Linked DNA regions of Homo sapiens: all the other regions are linked to region 1. The links are contacts of gene promoters, found by promoter capture Hi-C in human tissues and cell types (Jung and others, 2019). All regions are on one chromosome and are shown on one strand. The core of a region is centred on a gene start or on the middle of the fragment in contact, and the rest is flanking DNA. Distances in the headings are between cores, read along the strand shown.

Evidence for each region. Contacts are between HindIII fragments. The study calls those that stand out against the background at their distance.
Region 2: a contact is called between a fragment that was not itself captured here and the fragment with the promoter of ACKR3 in region 1, in 2 of the 25 tissues and cell types used here (dorsolateral prefrontal cortex and mesenchymal stem cells).
Region 3: a fragment that was not itself captured here is called in contact with the fragment with the promoter of ACKR3 in region 1 in 2 of the 25 tissues and cell types used here (pancreas and spleen).

What each region holds. Positions count from the first base shown.
Region 1 is chr2:236,568,001-236,571,227 of GRCh38, reverse strand. ACKR3 (atypical chemokine receptor 3) reads right to left here and starts at 1,403. Exons shown (of 2, transcript NM_020311.3): 1 at 1,304-1,403. RefSeq lists enhancers at 2,167-3,042, 3,043-3,227. The HindIII fragment of the contact is 7,550 bases long and covers 1-3,227 here.
Region 2 is chr2:236,463,901-236,467,127 of GRCh38, reverse strand. It overlaps DRC11 (dynein regulatory complex subunit 11), which reads left to right. Exons shown (of 19, transcript NM_024726.5): 6 at 1,418-1,623. Among named protein-coding and RNA genes, the nearest start is that of DRC11, 42 kb to the left of the region's middle. The HindIII fragment of the contact is 5,182 bases long and covers 1-3,227 here.
Region 3 is chr2:236,662,241-236,665,467 of GRCh38, reverse strand. No RefSeq gene overlaps it. Among named protein-coding and RNA genes, the nearest start is that of ACKR3, 94 kb to the right of the region's middle. The HindIII fragment of the contact is 7,362 bases long and covers 1-3,227 here.

The DNA.
Region 1 (3,227 bases), core at 154-2,653:
ATGTGCAACTTTGCTTTAGAAAAGACTTTCCATCTGGGGAAAGCTCATATTCTGATGAAAGAAGGGCAAGCAGTTTATCCATTTAAAATCTATGGAAAGTTAAAGCACAGAAACCAGCAGCCTCCACTTTCTTTGCTAGGCGTGCCTAGCTGATGTCCACATTTTTCCTGGAATAAATAAAGGGACACTAAAAGCAGCATCTGCCTTTAAAAAAGAAAAGAACAAAGTTACCATGTTGAGACTTTGCAGACTGAAGTTTCAGGGGATGTCACTGCACCAAATACATTCAAAGGGCTGTAAACCATTTAAGGAGGCTCTCTCCCACTTTTGAAACACTAAGTAATCCTGTTGTGAGCAAAAGGAAAGAAAGAAAGAAAGAAAGAGGAAGAGAGAAAGAGAGACAGCCAGTCTGACTTTTACAACTTCTCATTCTCCCTGGAAGTTACAAGTCTTGGCTAACCACCCATCCCTGACCTCACTCCAAAGTTCTCTCAGTCACTCCTTGAATCTTTGCACATGCCAACAAAATTGAACAAAATCCACATTTTACCTGAAGAGTATATTTAAATTGCAAAATAGTAGATTTGTGTGTGTGCTTCCCCCAACCCCAATTGAAGTTGGACTTAACACCTTCTAAGAGAACAATACTCAAATTAGATTAGCAAGCGTGCCATCAAGAGAAGAGAAGACCGGGCTGTGTTTAACATTCACGTTTATAGCTTCCGGACTTACAGACTCTGGTAAATCCCCCAAAGTACTGAATTCAAATACATCTTGGACTCACAAAGATTCTCAGCAGTTTTCTGCTCCATTTAAGGATGCCTCTTAATAAAGTGTTCATCATTCTGGAATTACGTATTTACTGCCAATTTTATCTGTTTCCAAACTGATATACTAGAAGCAAAACAGGTAAACAGTGGGTGCCAAGCTAATCCCCATGCCAAATTGGTCAGGCAGAATGGATAGTCTGTGTTCTTGCAAAGTTCCCCTGCTTACTGGAGCTTAAATAGCCACACAGCAAATAAACACCAGATTCCTAAATACACATGGAAATTTCCTTCTGCAAGTGACTTAAGAAAACTGCCCTTTGCTTTCTGAAGAGAAAGGTGAAGCCCTCCGAATTAGCAAAAGCACTTTGCAATGCAGCTGCGTGCAGCCTGGGTTTTCAGAAACCAGACCCGCAGACTCAAAAGCACCCATCTGAGCGATTTTAAAGAAGGCCTTTGAAAAGACCACTTGGCTTAAGAGCAGAAGCCGTGCCTTCTTTCCGAGCAGAGCTGCTGCCCGAGCACCGTTTCCTTACCTCCGGGCTGGCTGGGCTGGCTGGGCTGGCTGGGCTCGCTCGCCTTCCTGGCTGTGCTGTGCGCTGGCTCCCTTAGTGCTGAGCACTTTGCAACAACTGTGAGCTCTGCTGGCTGCAGACTTGCATTATATACACTGCAGAAAGGAGCCTCTAGCCTCTAGATGGCAGCTTTGTAACCCACATCTCTCTCTCCCCCGTGCCACCCCCATCCCACAGGCAGACACACACACACACACACCCCCCTCTTGTAAACCTCACTAGTCTGTTGTTTCCTGCACAAGTGTACTCTTGGGAAACCCCAGCCTTCTTTCATTTGCAAAATCTGGTGAAGCCACAAAGTCCAAACCCCACGGGGGGAAAACGTCAGCCAAAGACAAACTGCAAAGAAACCCTAGTGCTTGGCAAAATCATCAAATATTTATCTGGTCTCAGGTATATCTTGAATAATCCCATTAACACCAAGAGCTCCTGTGAATGCCTCTTCGCTCTAGGGAGGACTTTGTTCCCAAGACAAATTACTCTGAACTTCTGAACTTCGATGTTGATTTACTAAGCCTGGGTTTTCCTTGTTAATTCCTCCAAAACAGAAGTAACAGTTTTGGTATGACCAATGAATCGATGCCACACCGTATATCCCCAAAGTGGAGAAAAGAGTCTTTATAATAGATTATACTTGAATACTTTTATTTGTAAAGGACTTTAAGTACAAAATCCTTGAGACTCTAATCAAGATAGTATTCTACAGTGTCTGCCCAGTGCCAGACACGCATTAGGAAGATAATAAATGCCTTTTGATAATGTCTTTTTCTGAGATGAGTCTGGCAAACACTTTACTACAATTATTGCAATCTACATTCTTATTTGGATGCGTATTGCTAAAGTTCCCCCCACGGAGGAATTCAACCTAAAAATGTGATCCAGGTGATACTCATCTCCAATGCCCCATTTACAAAAATCGTCCATAAGATAGGGACCCAAAGGCCACCCGCCAGCCCATCCCATGTGCAATGCTCTGGCTTTCGTATTGCTTTCTGATCTCCTGGAGTTCTTAAAGAGCGGCTCAAGTGGAGTGTATGAAGGCACCAGCTGTATTCACGCCTTCTCCAGAGCTAAAACTTTTCGAGATTCTTTTTATACTTCTACTAAAAATAACAGCAGACGCTCGGTCCCAGCGCTGAATCTGGGGGACTGGGAGGTCAAAGTCTCACGTGGCTAGAAAGTCTCCGTGTGGAGAAAGCCCTTAACGAAAGAAATATTTTGTTTAGCTAAAAGCTTCACATTTTTCTCCTGAACTGGCTGCCCAGCGGGAGGCGAGGTGCACACCTGCTCTCCGGGGGCCTCCGGAGGGGTCGCCCTGGGGCCGGCCTTTCCCAGCCCGAGCGCAGCGTCCCGCCACCGCCTCTGCAGGGCGGCGCAATCACTCTTCGTGTCACATCGGCACCAAGGACATCTCCAGGCTCCCCAGAGACGCTGGAAAGGAAAACTGCCAGCGGCTGCGTCTACCCACACCCAAGATCTAGGCGAGACCTCGACTCTCCACAGCATACGTGTCCTGACTTTTTCTGTCCTGTTTCTTTCTTGTGGGGGACCCTGTGTCTGAGCCCGCTGGAAATGTACGGGGATCCCCTCTGGACTGCAGCTCGGTTTCCGCTTTCTGTGGCTGTAGCCGTGACTCCGGGGCCTGTCCTTCAGAGAACGCGCTCCGCATTGCAGAGCCTGCGCGCCCGGTGGAAACACAGAGTGGGTGTCAATCCGTTCTGAGCTAAGTGTACTGTCGCTGGAAGAAAGGCCACATGGGCCGGGGACCCCGGACAGGATGCTAACGTAGAGGAAGGAAAAGGCAACGCAGTTTTTTTAAAAAGTAGAACCCGCTTCGTGCGTCCGGGGCCAGAATCCACGAGGCCGCCTTGCAGCAGCCTGCGCC
Region 2 (3,227 bases), core at 209-2,708, 100 kb after region 1:
TTCAAAACTCTTGAGAGTAAAGCATTATAAACACTTTCAGGGAGGAAACAGCTTATTTGCAAAGGAACAACAATTAAATTTGCAAAAAAGGAACTGGAAACTCTACATATTAGAAGTAGAATTCCTCAAGGGAACTACCAAAATGCCATTCAAGTGGGAGGGGCCAAATGAAGACATCTTTAGAAATGCTAGTCCTTATAATATTTATGGCTGTACATATTCATTCTGAAAGTTACACTCAAGGACATACTTCAGCAAAATGAAAACTGAATACAAAAAAGAAGAAAAGGGTTATATGGTTTGGATGTTTGTCCCCTCCAAATCTCATGCTGAAATGTGATTCCCAGTGTTGGAGGTGGAGCCTAGTGGGAGGTGATGGATCTTGGGGGCAGATCTCTCATGAATGGCTTAGCACCATCCCCTTGGTGATGAGTGAATTCTCTCAGTTCACACAAGATCTGGTTGTTTATACAAGTCTGGGACCTCCCCTTCTTTATCTCTTGCTCCCTTTCACCACGTGAGACACTGGCTCCCTGTCACCTTCCATCATGATTGTAAGCTTCCTGAGGCCTCGCCAGAAGCCAAGCAGATGCTGGCACCATGCTTCTCATACAGCCTGCAGAACTGTGAGCCAAAATAAACTTCTTTTCCTTATAAATTACCCACCCTCCAGTATTCTTTTACGGCAGTGCAAAAATGGACTAATGCAAAGGGTAAACAGAGAAACCAGAACATCTCATAATTAAATGTAAACATATCTTGCTTTTCAAAATTAATTGCAGTCTATGATATTATAAAACGAGAGGTTGTGGGAAGAAAAGTGAACACATGCGTAGGTCCTATACTTGTTCAAAGAAGCTCTAGATTATGATAAATTCTAGACAGATAGAAATGTAGATGTTAAGTAACATGTTAAAATTTTAAGATAACCAGTAGAAGATTAAAATAAGATGTATAATTTTTAAACCACTGCATGACAAGAATGAACAAAACTACATAAATCCAACAGAAGGTAGGAAAGGAAGAAAAAAAAAACAAGAAAGTGTGTTAGATAAAAAACTTGAGAAGATTATCTCCAAATGTTTCTTCTGTACAATGAATAAAATTTTTCTTTTCTATAATTCTCAGATTGAGTTTTTTTAATCCAGATCTATGTTGTTGACAGGAGAGAAACCTCAAACATACTGAAGCTGAAAACTTCAAAACAAAAGAACATAAAGCATTATGTCAGGGACTTTGGATTAAATACACTGAGTAAATGCACTCAGTTAGCTTTGCTTCCTCTGGATGCTTGTATTTCTTATTTGCCTTTGCTAGACACTATGGAAGATATTAACACATTTGTTCAGTTTCTGATATTTTTACCAACTCTGTAACTTTTATGACCTCAAACCTTGTTGCTTGTATATATTTTCAGAATCCACCTCCTCTCTTTAATGAAGTCAGTGCTACAGTAATCCAGGCTGAAAAGGTGGACCGCCTGCGGAATGAGGTGCAGATAAAGCATGAAGAGGACTACAGGGAAGCCCTGGTTACCATCAAGAATGACCTAAAGTTGATAGAAGGCGTGGATATCAAGGAGAACCTTCAAGACCAGATCCGGCATTGGTTCATCGAATGCAGGTGAACATGAGCTACATCGTGACATATCCAGTCTGTTCTTTAGTGGCTGAGGTTATTGTATGTTTTTAAGCACAGAAGCATATTGATATAGAGTCATGAGGTTTCTCGGCTTCGTTTTAGAAACGTGAAATGCCAAGGCTAAGAATTCAGAAATTAATTTTTTTAAATATGGAAAAACGGCCCACATAGTGCCTATGTGACCACATGGCTTGGAATATAATGGGTGCATGACATAGCCCAAGGATGGCAGGACTTCACAGGCCAGGTCTGTCCAAAAGTCAGGGGACCCAGAAATAACCTTCCCTTCTGGCATCTAGCCAGCCTCTCTACTTGTAAGAAGCTTGAGATTCTCAATCATGGTCCCTCTCGGTCATAATCCTTTGAGGCAGCTGCTGATTCCTGGGACTAGACACCTGGCCACCAGGTCTCCTTGAATGATGGTGTGTTAGGTGGTTCTTGCATTGCTATAAAGAAATATCTGAGGCTGGATAATTTCTAAGGAAAAGAAACTTAATTGGCTCAAGGCTCTACAAGCTTTACAGGAAGCATGATGCTGGTATCTGCTCCTGTTTGCCTCAGGGAGCTTTAACTCAACTCACGGCAGAAGGTGATGCAGGAGAAGGCACGTCAAATGGCAAGAGCAAGAGCCAAAGAGAGAGTGCGGGGTTGGCGGCAGGGGGTGGTGCCACATACTTTTAAACAACCAGATCTTGCAAGAACTCACTCACTATAGCAAGGACAGCACCAGGCCATGAGGGATCCACCCCCATGACCCAGACACCTCCCACCAGGCTCCACCTCCAACACTGGGGATCACATTTCAACATGAGATTTGGAGGGGGCATCCAAACTTTATCAGATGGGTAGATAGGTAGTTTTGGAGACAAGGCTCCAGGCGTATTCATATTTAAGGGTGTTCTTTAATGTTCTTAAATGAAATGTTAAATGAGTTAAAACTTGTTTACAAAAGATGGTTTGTAAAAGGTATTCATCAGAGAATTTTTCTACACAGCAGAACACTTTGATGGTAACCTAATTAGAAGAGATTTTAAATCAATTTTATTTCAAGAAGGGAAGAAAAGAGGGCAGATTGTTATGATCAGTCCCAGGAGCCATAGAAGGCAAGCTTGCCCATCTGTTTTCTTGATGGGGTATTGCATCATATCACTTCAGGTCTCAAGATGCTCTGACGCCAACTGTGGTTAGGACCAGAGAATTTAAATGTTGGCAATAGAAAAATCAAACTTTCTCTCAAAAAGATTCTATTAAAAGATATCTGTGGCAGGCAGCCTCTAAGCTGGCCTCCAGTGATCCCTCCCCTGAAGTGTGAGCTATACCTAGTAACACTTCCAAAGACAAGGATACGGCTAGAGTGATGGGATATCACTTTCATCCTGCTCACCTTTCCTGCTCTCTCATTTGCCTTCTCCCTTGCTGGCTCAGAGTCAGCGACCATTGTGTCAGCTGCCCAGTGGAGAGGCCCACAAGGCAGGGAGCTGGAGGAGGCTCCCAGGCAACAGCCAGTGAGAAGCTGAGGGCCCCCTCCAGCAGCCTGAGAACTAAGTGCTGCCCACCAACCACAGGCATAGACTTGGAAGTGGATC
Region 3 (3,227 bases), core at 452-2,951, 94 kb before region 1:
TGGTCTCGAACTCCTGACCTCGTGATCTGCCCACCTCGGCCTCCCAAAGTGCTGGAATTTCAGGTGTGAGTCACTGCGCCCTGACTCATCTGCCATCTTTTAACCTAAAGGAAGAGGAGAAAGGCAGCTCTTTGGACAGCTGTCTGGGAAGACCAGTCCTGCAGCCCCTTAAGGAGTTCTCCTTCCTGCTGAAATTGGCACTGTCTTTGGTGGCACCTCAGGCTGGCTGTACAAAGAGCGTGGTCCCACTTCAATTTGGCCAATTATTAGCTATGTGACCCCAGACTACCTGCATAACCTCTCTGGTCATCGCATATAATATCAGGAACTGGACCAGTCAGGTTTGCACATTTTATTTTTCTTTTCTTTAGCAGTGGTACCCTTTCTTCAGCAGAAATCTTGAGTAAAATGCAGTATGTGAAACCAGTCAGAAGGAGATGTCGGGGACCAAGAGCCCTGCCTCCTGGTGACCCATCACCTCCCTCCTGCTGTAGAACCCCTGAGCTGCCCTCAGAGGAGGCACAGGTTGAAAGGCTCCCACCTGAGTGGTCCTGGAAGCCCCTTTTGCACTAGGACTCCTTGAGCCTCTGCCTTCCAGACCCATGGGCTGTCCTGTGCTTTTTTTCCTGTTGGTTTTTTTGTTTGGTTGGTTGTTTTGTTTGTATGTTTTGTTTTGTTTCGTTTTGTTTTGTTTTTGTCGCCCAGGCCAGAGTGCAGTGGTGCCATCTCCACTCACTACAACCTCCACCTCCCAGGTTCAAGCGATTCTCCTGCCTCGGCCTCCCAAGTAGCTGGGATTACAGGTGCCCACCATCACGCCCGGCTCATTTTTGTATTTTAGTAGAGATGGGAGTTCACCACGTTGGCCAGGATGGTCTCAAACTCCTGACCTCAGGTGATCTGCCCACCTTGGCCTTCCAAAGTGCTGGGATTACAGGTGTGAGCCACCATGCCCGGCCTTTTCCTGTATTTAAATTGAGATTCCATATGGTTTTGTAGACCATTTAGAAATAATAATAATAATAATAATAACCCAGGGATGTGTGAAATGCTTCTGTATCCTCTTCTCCATTGTCAAGTTTGCCGTGATCTTCACTCGCATGATTGCACCGATCTTCACTCACACGATTGCACCGGGAGGCTGTTGCCTTAGTGCCTTTTCCAATTCAGACCAAGGACAGGCTTCTTCCAAGCCCAGTTGACAGCCCTAGGTCTACTCTGTCCCCTATCAATATCCTGTTTCTGTGTGTGGCCAAACAAAACAAAAAAAATCCCATGATTCACCCAGAAACTGTGCCTAATGATAGACAAATTAAATGTCTATAACTTGTTGTAATTACTTAATAAAGTTTGTCGAGCGCTTAAGAATCCATCTGGATGAAAGAAACATTGTTAATGTAAAACATGATTACAGCAACAACTACAATCATGCCAAAATTCCAGAGTCCCACCCCCTCAGTAAAGAGCATGAGCTGTGCCATTGGTATTCCGCCGCGGGATGCTGCCATGCAAACCAGCATCCCCGCCGGCTCCTGTGACATCTGCCCACCCAGGGTATTTGCTAACAAGAAGGATGGAGTGGGAGGTGTAAAGGAAAGAAGTGCAGTCCTCCAAAGTGAAATTATTCCCTTGTCTCCATTCTGTGAAAGCTCCGAGTCCAAGTGAGCTTGCTAAAATGTCAGCCACGTGCCTCAGTGATTAGGGCTGCGGTTTGGGCAGCCTGTCAAAGATTTTCCCAGGCGACGCTCAAGCCCCTTCTCAGCCCAGCGCAGGAGGTTTGGTGTTTTTACTGCAGGGCAGTCCAGAGTTTCTGGGAGAGCAAGTGATATCCTATAAGCCATCCACACACCTTCATTCCCCACATGCATCCTAAACTTTAAGTTAATGTTCTGCCTTTTCTTTTTCCCATTCAGGGAGATTCACATGTTTGGCCAAGATAGCCTGTCCCACTGACAGGACCGTAAAGCCAATCCAACTGGGAGGAGAGCCAGGGAGGCTGCGTTCGTGGACTTGAAGAGTCTAACAGGCCTGCTCCTGGAATTTCATCCCTCACTCTCCCCACTTCTCCCTCCAGCCCAGCGTGAACTTCACTCGTGCCAAAAAATCAACTGCATAAGAACAGGATTAAGCAGGAGGCTGGAGACGGAATTAAATAAAGTGCATGAATGAAACCTCAAGATTTTCTTAACTGTGAACTCACCAAGAGCCAACACAGCGGAGCTTATGAAATTTCACTAGGTGAGACTGTATGAGTGCTTCCGCACCAAGCCAAATTCAACCTCCCCATAGCTTCCCCCCAACATTTCTAAACCTGCCCTCTGGAATCATACCGATCAAACCTAATGTCTGAATGAATATGTTTATGCCCAGTGAAGCATAGAAGATGACTGCTGGGCATCCAAGTCTTCCCTTTCCCCAAATGAATTTTCGTGGGTCTCCTGTCCCTTGCCGCCCTGACAGTTCGCCACCCACTCATCACGTTGTGGGTCGACCCCAGTTTAGGGCTGCTGCTCCCATGAGTAGTTTCTTGAGCTGCTCTTTCCCTGGAGCTGTCCACTCTGATGCTGGAAGGGCTTCAATTTTGGGGTAGATCAGAGTTTCTCAAACTTAGCTCTATGGATCTTTTCACCCAGAGAATTATTTGTTCTGCGAGGTGGTCCTGTGCACTGTAGGATGTTTAGCAGCCACCCTGGCCTCTACCCACCAGATACCAGTAGCAACCCCCTCCCCGCAGTGACAAAAATGTTTCCAGACATTGCCAAGTGTCCCTTGGGGAACAGAGTCCCTCCTGACTGAGAACCACTGGGGTAGAATGTTTGATTAGGGTCCCCTTCAACTGAAAGGTTCTAACCATTCATGATTCCATGAACTGCCCACATTTTCTCAAATCATCAGCTCAGTTCAGATTGTGAAACCACTAAGAACACAAAACTACTTTTAAAAAAGGAGCTGGTGTTTTGAAAGTTCCCCATGAGTAATAAAAAGATGATGATGGTCAAGACAAAATTGCAAAAATGCCCAGTCCCCTTAAAATGAAAGCAGCAGGAAGAGCGGCAGCCCGGGGTGGAGGGAAGGGTTGGTGAAACTGAATTCCTGGAGGATTTCCCTCTTTGGCCAAGTGGGTTCATAGCAGAAGCTTAGCAAATGAACTTCACAAAATGTTCTTTCCACCCGAAAATGGTGGTCTCCTGTAATTTTAGCTGGTGAGAAGAGGGAGGAAATAAAGG